Regions from separate parts of the Homo sapiens genome. Here region 1 is linked to region 2. The links are contacts of gene promoters, found by promoter capture Hi-C in blood cells and fetal thymus (Javierre and others, 2016). All regions are on one chromosome and are shown on one strand. Each heading gives the region's core, a stretch centred on a gene start or on the middle of the fragment in contact. The rest is flanking DNA. Distances are from core to core; before and after follow the strand shown. Region 1 holds the start of LOC100128059 (a long non-coding RNA gene). Region 2 holds the start of C5orf58 (chromosome 5 open reading frame 58).

Evidence for each region. The method cuts DNA at HindIII sites, captures the fragments that hold promoters and counts their contacts. A CHiCAGO score of 5 or more calls a contact.
Region 1: a fragment that was not itself captured here is called in contact with the fragment with the promoter of C5orf58 in region 2 in 1 of 17 cell types (non-activated CD4 T cells); the score reaches 5.1 in non-activated CD4 T cells.

What each region holds. Positions count from the first base shown.
Region 1 is chr5:170,312,515-170,317,692 of GRCh38, forward strand. LOC100128059 (a long non-coding RNA gene) reads right to left here and starts at 202. Exons shown (of 2, transcript NR_147701.1): 1 at 25-202. RefSeq lists an enhancer at 122-171. The HindIII fragment of the contact is 5,220 bases long and covers 1-3,970 here.
Region 2 is chr5:170,230,792-170,236,126 of GRCh38, forward strand. C5orf58 (chromosome 5 open reading frame 58) reads left to right here and starts at 2,194. Exons shown (of 4, transcript NM_001102609.3): 1 at 2,194-2,216; 2 at 3,324-3,407; 3 at 4,186-4,279. The coding sequence starts at 4,186. The HindIII fragment of the contact is 4,262 bases long and covers 237-4,498 here.

The DNA of each region.
Region 1 (5,178 bases), core at 111-2,610, 81 kb after region 2:
GCTTCCAGGGTGTGCTGTGCTTACCTTTCATATAGCACCATCTACACATGGCCATCTCGCTGCTCAGCTCTCCTACTAGAATATGGTCTCCTTGAAGGCAGGTCAGCGTGGTATCTCCATGATTAACAGGGTGCCTGGCACAAATGAATAAATGAGGCCGCTGCAGCCCTCCTGCCATGGACCCTGGGAAAGCAGAACACATGTTCATTTCCTTTTCTGACTCTCTAGGGCGTGAGAATCCTTCCAGATTGGGTGACTCTTCAACTTCCTCTTGGGGATCTGTAGGTGCAGCAAGGGTTGGAGAATCAGAAGCGCATGTGTTGAGAGCACCCTAGGATTGCTCAGTGACAAGCAGGGAAACCAGACTCCCTGTGACATCATCACTTTGGGGCATGCATGGCCTGGGGATTTCTGCATTTCCAGGAAGACTCTAAGACAGCCCTGTTTAGGATGTAGTGAATCACTAGCACTGTCTGGAGCTCTGAACTGCAGCAGAAGGCTGAGGTCTGTGAGACAGCCAGAAGAAGTGGGTGGGGGGAAGATGGTTTCATATAGATGCACCATCCAAATCCCTTCAAGTTGTCTGTGACCAACATTTCTTACTTTGAACAAAGTTATGGATTTTTTTCTACCTGTAAAAGTAAAACAGAGTCATCATGGAAACATAAATAAAATACAGGCAAGAAAAGGAATAATGAACATTAGACACTTAAAATGTTGGTATTTCCTTTCTTCAAGTAAAAAAATCTTTCTCACTGTCAAAATGAGAGTACCATCTTCATAGAATTCTTTATAACCTCTGTTAAAGGAAAACTTTAAATTTCCAAATTAAATTTAACAGAGTTTATTTGAGCAAAGAATGATTCACGAATCCACAGCACTCAGAACCAGAAGAGGTTCCGGGAGCCCAGGAGCATGAGCACTGAGCTTTTATAGGCTGAACATGGAAACAAAGCAGATAAATCACCTGATTGGCTACAGCTAGACATCTGTCTTATTTGGGCCTGGTGCGATGAATTGGTTGTCCGTGATTGGCTGAAACTCAGCTGTTTGTGATTGGCTGAAACCAGCTATTTGTTACCAAAAGTATTCTCCTAAGTTTCAGTTTGTTTATATACTAAGTTAGGGTGTAATTTGTTATGGAGGAATTCAAAGTGCGGAGGCTTCCTGCTTGTTTCATTTAATACCTCTTTGTGGTTTTTTAAATCCGTTTTCATATATGCAACATATTATGAATAGCTTTCCATGTGGCTGAATGTCATCTCAAAGCAGCTTTGAAACGGCTGCAGAGTGCTCCATGGTATGCAGGTACTAGAATTTATTTCAGTAATTCCCTATGGTTTAGATTGGTTCGAAATTTCATTATTATAACCCAGAAATGAGCATTCTTTTAGCTGACCCACTGCACACAGCCATGATTACTTCTTTAGGATAAATTGCCAGATGTCAGTTTGCTAGCTCAAGGATAGGAACTTCTGTAATTTTGCTACATCCCACTCCACTGTTCTCCACACAGTTTTCATTTTGGCTTCTGCCAGTTGGCCATGAGGGTATGTGTTGTCATTTTGTGACATTTCCTCGTGTCACAGCTGCCTTAGTGTCCTCTTAACCTGTTTTCCATGAAATGATGGATGGCAGGCCATGCAATTGGCTCCATTACCCACCTGAGAGAAGCCCCAGAGAAACCTCAATAAATCTGGCTCATACCAGGGGTGGCCAGTGTGAATATCAGTAGGACAGAACAATAAATGAAGAAATCCCATGCTGATCCTATTATACACAGCACAGAGATTAATAGACTCTGGGATCACACAGACCTTGATTTGAATACTGACCTTGACTTGGGCAAGATCTTGCTGAACCTCAGTTTTCTCAGCTGTGAAATGGAATCATACTGTCCCATCCTGATGAGGTTTAAATTGAATCGGGTGTCAAAAACTTATAGCATAGAGCAGGTACCCAGTGGGCCCTTGGGACACATTAGCCAGAATTGTTACTAAATAGGCACAATAATTTGAGCCAATGTAACAAACCTTTTGTTTAGTTGGGGTCCTTAAGAGACCTGTTAAACTGCTAAGAATGATTTCTAGCCAGTGTAACAATTGTGCCCAGGGGAAGAGATCCCCATATGAGTTAATTTCCTTAAATGTTTGCTATATTCTATGTTTCATAATTCAGTGTTTCTTAACATTCCCTGTGAAATTTTATTTGGTGTAACAGGGCTTATTTTCACAGAGCTTGTCCTACCAAGCCTTCTCTACGGCAAGGGAAAGGCAAACCCAGGCTTAGCCACCAGGGCAGAGGTTCCCTGGCTGGTGAGCTTAGGGAAAACACAAATCCTGGGGCTTCACTGAGTCCCCCTGGCTCAGATCTCCAGGCCACCCTGGGGATCCCAGGTGTCCGCACCATTAACAGACTCCTCAGGTAATTCTTAAGCTGGCTGGGCCTAAAACTGCAAACTGGTATTGGGCATGCCAGAAGGTAACCATAAATGGGCTATTTGGAGATTTCTAGGAAGAAGAATGACATTTTGTTTCATTCCATTCCATTTCATTTCATTCCATTAATACTAAAAATATTAACTAAAGCATCATTTCTACTATATATCCAGAAGAGAACATGGTCTTAGGTCTTTTAATAAATGAACTTCAGTTGCAAACTTTCTGCTGTGACGTTATATTTCTCTTTCCACCCTAGACCAGCCCCTAATGGGGCCATGAAGTCAGATTTTTGGTTCATGGTGTTGTCGGGGCAGCATAGCCCAGAATTCCACTTCCTTCCCTGAGGACACATTTATTCTGGTAGATGTGCTGTTTTCCATTTAAATGTCCTTTGGCAATAAAAGAGCTGGCTCCAACAGCAGACCACGGGGCTGGCTTTGTCGGCAGACACCACGTGTTCATGACTGGCAGCTTTGTCTGGAAGAGGGAGCTTTTAAAATGCAGTTCTATGCTGACTCTTTGGAGTCTTCCCAGGAAGATAACTGCTATTGCATTGCATGCTTAATTTAGAGCACCTATTTTTCCCTCTCCTTCAAGGTTTCTGTATATCTTCTCAGTTCATGAAATTAATTATTTGGGTACAATAATTGTACAAAGGCACTTTATCAGACACTTCGTATAAATTATTTCTCATTCTCAAGGCAACTTGGAAAGGTCAGTCTAGGGGTCAGCTGCTACTTTTGGTGATCAGGCATCACCCCCTCCTTCCTCTTAGTACGTTATGACAGTGGCAAGTGAGCATTACCTGTGGACCCCAAAGGAGTTCATTTCCTTAGAGCCAGCCATTCCTCAGTTAATCTGGTCTGTCAGACACTCTGTCCCAGGACACTGAGCCTTGAGCATGTGAAGGTGTGGGCTCTGCTGGGGGCTTGGCAGCCAGCACCTGTCTGTGTATCACCTGGCTCCTGCAGCGAGAACCTGCGGTGTGATTTCTGCAGCCTGGCCCTCTGAGATTCCATGGCTGCTGACCATTTTCCACTTTCCAAGACTGTTCACATTCCCAGCAATTCTGTGAGGCCCTGGCCTTCAAAGGTGTTCAATACATTCCTTTTTTTTTTTTTTTTTTTTTTTTGAGACAGAGTCTCACTCTGTCACCCAGCCTGGAGTGCAGTGGTGCCATTTCAGCTCACCGCAACCTCCACCTCTCGGGTTCAAGCAATTCTTCTGCCTCTGTCTCGCAAGTAGTTGGGATTACAGGCACACATTGCCACTTACGGCTTTTTTATCATTATTATTATTATTTATTTTTAGTAGAGATGCAGTTTTGCCATGTTGGCCAGGCTGGCCTTGAACTCCTGGTCTCAAGTGATTCACCCACCTCAGCCTCCCAAAGTGCTGGGTTTACAGGCGTGAGCCACTGTGCTGGGCCCCATTTGTTATTTAAGGGAGAGTCCGTTTCTGCTGTTTGTAACTAAGGACCTGTCTGATCTCTAGGAATTATTGACCCCAGTTTTCAGATAAAGAAGTTAAGCTTGAGGTTAGAGCTTTTGAGCAAAAACTCCTCTCCTAGAGAACTCAAGTATCCAGGAATACTCGGTCAAGGCTGGGCTGGACCAGGTCTGTAATCCTGATATTCAGAAAAGGGATGATTTCTCCTCTTTGGTTTGGTTTTCTCACTGAGGCCTGCACACCAGTTTATTTCCTGACTTGTGCATTCAACATGGGCAAATCCAGGTCAACAAAGACTGGCAGCTTATTCCTGAGTACAGTTCCACCAGGTATGGCACACAAAGTGATATGAGTTAGAACACAGATGGATATAGATGTTTTACAAATGTAAGTTTGCATAACACACACACACACATTGCTATGTGTTAGAAAAATACAATAAGCTCATCTAATTTATTATTTCATGTGTCTTATTGCTCAGAAAGAGGAAAAGATTTTATTGAAGTTGAGAAAAGAAATTGAATTAAAATAATATACTAAATAAACAAAAGTAACTGTGGCTCATCTTAGTTGGGCCAAAACCAGGATGGTGATGAATGGAGGTCTGAAATGGGAGAGTCCCCGCAGAGTAGGAAGAACCCTGAGGATAGTCTCAGCAGATTATGGCTCCAGATGTGTCAATGTAAAGGACGCATCTTCTTGGTACCATCTCTTTGGTTGAGATGAATCATCTTTAGGCTTTCACTTGCTATTGGTTGTCCATCCTTTATCTGCAAATATGAGTGAAACCAAGCCTGGGCGAGGGAGATAGGCTCTTTGCCCAGTGTCTAACGGGCAAGTGATGGGGGCAAGCTGAGTTTTTTCTGATTATTGAGAGGGAAGTCCTGGGAAGCCCACAATATATAAAATCAAGAGTTATGGTGAATGTTAACCCAAAGGCATAGGCAAGAGTGTGTTTCCAGGTGAAGCATTCCCTCCAGGAGTTGGAGAGGTTCAGATCAGAGTCACCTTTCTGTCTGTTCACTGTTTGCTTCCAGCGTTCAATAAGGTGGGAAAACTCCTTATTGCCCACCTACCGGGTGCCAGACACTGCTCCGAACTGGCACTGCAGGGTGGACAAGTGCCTAGTGTCTGTCCTCCAAAGCAAGAGAGATGGGTAATCTGTCCCATTTAGTTCTCTGGTGTGGATGCAATGGTACTGGTTAGCATATGAGCCAAAAGAGCAGGGGATGATCCTGACCTTACTGTGTGTGCAGAGTAAATGGGTTTGCAGAAGTAATGGTGGGGC
Region 2 (5,335 bases), core at 944-3,443:
GAACCCAAAAATGAGTTCAGTGTGCTTGGGACAATAGGACACTCCAGCCTACCAACCCCAGTGCCCATCATCACTTGATTTTCAGGATTCTCAGTCTTAATGCTATCTCCACCCACCTACTTCTCCTAAGCACCTTATTTACTCCTGTAGTTATCCACAGGGAGTTTCTAAAAGTGAAGAAGTTTTTACTTCTTCATCATCAAAATAAGTGAGGAGGAGAAAGGATACATCCTGTAAGCTTTCTGTCAAGATAGTCTTATTCTGAAGTTAAGACCCTCCTCCTTTTATTTTCTTCCTTCTGTTTTGATTTTAAATTATCCTTGCTTTTATAATACAATGAAGCCAGTTCTTTTTGCTTGGTTTTATACATTAATGTCCTAATTTAGAAATAAATGTTGCTTACCCTATGTTGGTCTCCCCGTATTTGTATTCCTCTTTTAACTCTTTCAGTCATTCTAATTATATCAAGAAGAAAGTCTTGGTTTGTGCTAGACTGTCTTTAACACTTCTCTAACACTTAATAAGAACCCATTTTAACAAAAAAGATCAGGCTGCAGAAAACACTGCAACTGGTTGCGAGCGTATATACATGATTAAAATATGCCTTATTTTCACTGTCTTTATTTTTCCAATGACTTTATGAGTTTTGTTTGTTTGTTTTGGGATGGAGTCTCACTCTGTCACCTGGACTAGAGTGCAGTGGTGCGATCTCGGCTCACTGCAACCTCTGCCTCCCGGGTTCAAGCGATTCTCCTGCCTCAGCCTCCTGAGTAGGTGAGGTTACAGGTGGCCACCACTACGTCCAGCTAATTTTTTGTATTTTTAGTAGAGACGAGGTTTCACCATGTTGGCCAGGCTGGTCTCGAACTCCTGACCTCGTGATTCACCCACCTCAGCCTCCCAAAGTGCTGGGATTACAGGCGAGCCACCGTGCCTGGCCTGACTTTACGTTTTATTCTATTTAACACTGGTGATATAAAGATTTTTAAGTAGACTTAAATTTTAAAAATAAGTAGATTTAAAATATGAAGGCAATAATATAGCTTCGTATTTTACAAAGCTGGTTATCATTAAAAACTTCTTCACCTTTAGAAACTCCCTGTAGTTAACCACAGGAGACAATAAGGTGTTTAGGAGAAGATAATAATAATATGAGTGCCATAAGCACAGAATCTTAACAGTGGCCCAGCAATTAGTACAATTTAGGAACTACTGGTTTAGCCCATCCCTCTCAATAGAAAACAGATAAGGAAACAGAGACTCAGAATAAGGAAGATATTCTTTTCTAAGATCATACAGCTGGTTATCATTAAGCTCTGTTCTCCTCTGTCCCTCCTCATCTAGGTAATTGCATTCGACAACAAATTCTGCAGTGTTAAAGTGAAGGAAATTGGATATAAAATACCCAACAATTGTGATGTGGGCTTTCAGGAAGGTGATGGTTCAAGAGGCTGGTGTGTACTATAGGGGAGGCATAGACGCAAAGACTTGTTGTATAGCACCTTGTGCTGAAAGCCTAAACTCCTCAATTTCTCAGGGCACCAAGAAAAATCTTTGGGCCTGCCTCAAAGGTTGCAGTGGCAGAGATTCCTCTGGAGTCAAGCAAAAGACGGCTCGAATCCCAGCTTCTCAGCTTGGCAAAAAACCATTTTCCATGTCTCAACTCATCTCTTTATTCATGCTACTCTTTACTATTATCATTCCTATAAAATGTTATAGGAAAAATAATAGCTAACAGTTATGGAGCACTTGGTATCTGCCAAGCACCTCTGATGAATTATCTCACTTAACCCTCAAACTAACACTGGAAGGCAGTTATTATCGTTCCATACGATAGGTGAGGACATCTGCACTCTGAATAGTTAATCGCTTATCTGCATCTATACAACTAAGCAGGTGATAGAATAGGATTCAAACCCAAGTGGCTTCATTCCAGAGTCTGCACTTAACGCTACCGCTATCCTGTGCGACTCAAATGCAGATAAGGGTTGCAAAAGCCTGGCACACTGGGGGTAAGGAATGTCAGTGCTTTTTCCGCCAACGTGGCCGCGCGAGTCAGTTGTAACCCGGCATCCAGAACCTTCTCCGTAGGGGCCTTGCCTGGGACTACAACTCCCAGGATGCCGCAGGCGGAGAAGCTGGCCAATCAGGGGGCGCGGCTTCGCCTTCACCGTCGGCTCCCTGCTCCTGTCAGAACCTCGGTGACGGTTGGCCAGGTGGGTAGTGACGGCTGCTCGGTCTTGAAGGATCCTAATCTGGTTTGGGAGGGTGAAGACCGCTGAAATTTCCAGGCTGCCCGAGGCTCCACCTTCCACCACCCAACGGGTGGGCGGTGGGCCGGGCTGGCCTCGGAGCCTCTCCCTGGGTGTCGGTTGGGCCGAGAAGGGGACGGTTGGCTGGGTGGGCCTGGCGGCTGGTGGCTGTCCGTAGGCCGGGGTCACTCTGAGGGCATTTTACATTACCCTAATCCTGTCCACTTGGCAAGAAACTTAGTAAGCCCCAAAGGTTCATTCCAAATCCTGTCTGGGAGGGCGAGGACTGTGGAAACTTCCAGATGCCTCAGGCTCCATCTTTAGCTGTTGAGCGGGTGGTTGGGCCGCTCATGGCCCCAAAGATCTGGGGGGTCTTCATGGGCAGTTGGGTCGCTGAGGGCCCTAAAGATCTGGGGCTCCTCCCAGGTGTCAGTTGGGCCAAGGAGGAGGCTGGGCTTTCAGAGTAGAACCTGCGGTGCTAACGATGGCTCTGCAGGGCTGCGGGCTGAGGGCCTGGGCGGCGTCCTGTGGCCCGGAGATGGCGCTCTAGTGGTATCAGGCCTTGAGTCAGCGACATCCTGGCTTCTGACCCCCCATTCCTATGGCCCCTACAGTCTGGTCTCCGCTTCCCCACTCCCGGTGAATTGCTGTTGGAGCAGCCTCTCCTTTCTGGGTAGTGGCCTGGCCGAGCTCCCCGGGGAGGGCTTGACCCAGACCTGTCCTGCCTCCAGTCCAGTCCCAGCTACATTGTTGTGTAGCACCCCACTGTGCCCTCACCCCACCCACGCGCTGGGTGCTCGAGGGCCTAGGAGAACCAGAGTGGAGAGAGGCCACTGTCTTGGGCTCTAAAATCATTTAGTTTCTACTTTACTATTTTTAAAAAACTTTTGCCTTGTTTTTGAAGTTCTTTAATTCCACCACTCCACCCCTTGTTAAAATATCATCTTTCTTTTTCCCTGCAACTTGACTCTTGGTTTGGCATGCCCAAGGAAGGCAGCTGACATCCTGGAGAATGGGGTCTTGGGGGTAGATGCAAAGCGCATTTTATTAATGTCTGGGAAACAAAATTAGTTTTTTTACAGTGGCTCTGAAATGAGAGAAATTGCAGAAATTCTCCCTGCTCAGGAAAAGGTAGAGGCAAGGATTGACTTAAAGGTTAGTTTGTTTTCATTATTTTGGACAAGCAGCTTGACCCATGACTGCCCACCTTTCACACTGCTGGAGTTGTGTATGCTAATTGAGATGGAGTTTTTCAAGTCATTTTGAGAGACTGAACAGCTTAAGACTAGTTTCTAGTGAACCACCTCTCTGTATATTTGTATCTGACACAATTGGTTAAATACAGGTACTGTATAACATAGGAATGCGTTGATTTATACATTTCAGTTAACCAAAATTAAAATGTCTGTTACTCTAACTCCCAAAACCAAACCAGCCATTTGCCATACTCTTAGTGGATTATAATTGAATTATCCTCTTAATGAATTAGAATAAAATTCTTTTTTGAGTTTCACTGTGTACTTAAATCATATGTGGGCCCTGTTATTCAAGAATAAGTTAGAAAAAGACATGGACTTACATAAACAAAATTAGAGAAGATCTTAACACAAACGCTAAATTGTAAGGTAGTTTATAAGGGCTGAGGCTTTCTGAAAAGGGGACATCTTCATTTCCATTGTAAGCCCTATCTTGTGGATATGGTTTGATTGAGGAAGGAACCTCATCCTACAAATTCCAGTTGGAGTTTTTAGTTGGAAAAATATTACATAACACATTAATGCCTTTTGATGTTAGAATTCTAACCATTTATAAAGATTTGTTTCATAATTATTTCTGAAATAACAGATTTATAGAAATACTGAAAATGTAAGTATTTTAAAAGTACACATAAATACTGATTTATACATTGTTTCTGTTTTTCTTTTAAAATCAGATGGGTAAGAAGCGTGTTACTGATCATAAGCTAAATGTGGACAAAGTAATTAAAAATATTAACACAATTTCTTCGGAGTTGAAGAAGATAAAAGGTAAGTATTGAATCACTAAAATGTTTGCATGTCATTGTTATAAAATAAATGATAGAGCCAGTTTGTGTTTCTGCTGGGGTATAAGTAAATTTTGCCCACTAATTAGGATTTCTCTATTTCTTAACAAATGTTTTCAGTGTAAGTGAACTAGATCTCTAAAGATGAATTATGTTCGACTTTGGAGTTAGCAGACCTGAATTCCCATCCCTGACATTAATAAGCTTATCAGGTTGTCTAACCTCTGTAAATTTTACTTCCCTTCCTTCCCTTCAACACACCATTCAAGACTATGTCACATTCAGCAAAATTCATTGTCTTTATAAATTCTTACTAAGCCCCTAAGGTCCATTCCAAATTAAAAAGTATAAATTAGATTCTGTGACTTAAAGCTTCTTCATTTTAAACAGATTCATATAGTAGGATTAGACCTTATAGGTCATGATGTTTAGTCGCTCACCTCACAGACATATTCAGTTATTTTATCCCAAGAAAATTTCTGTGATTGAATATTTCTAGGGATAATCTATCCCTGACCAAACATTTCTTATGCTGGGGAACTTCCTGTCTCACTAGTCAATCCATTCTATTTTAAACAATTCCTTCTCACCAGCTAGCTGAAATCTGTTCCCCTATTGCTTTCACCTAAGAGTCCTATTTCTAACCATGAAAACTACACTGAATATGTAGTTATTCTTTTTAAAACAACTCTTGGGTATTTAAAGATAACCTGTGTCAGTTATGAGGCCTACATCTATAAGTAACAAAAAAACCAACTTAACTTATACAATAAGGAAAAACAAGAAGATCCAAGGTAGCAGAGCCCTAAAGTTAATTCAGAGGTTTAAAGATTTTGTCAGGGACCAGGCTCTTTCCATCTTTCTGCTCTGTCATGTTCACTCTCTTTATTACCCCTCATGATCATTACCTTCAGAGGTGCTCATATATAGACAGTCTCTTTTTATAAGTCTCCTCCCAGATCCCTCCAGCACAGTTCCCTTTCATTGGCCAGATTTGCATCACATGCTGATGCTTACAGCAGCCACAGCTAAGGGGACT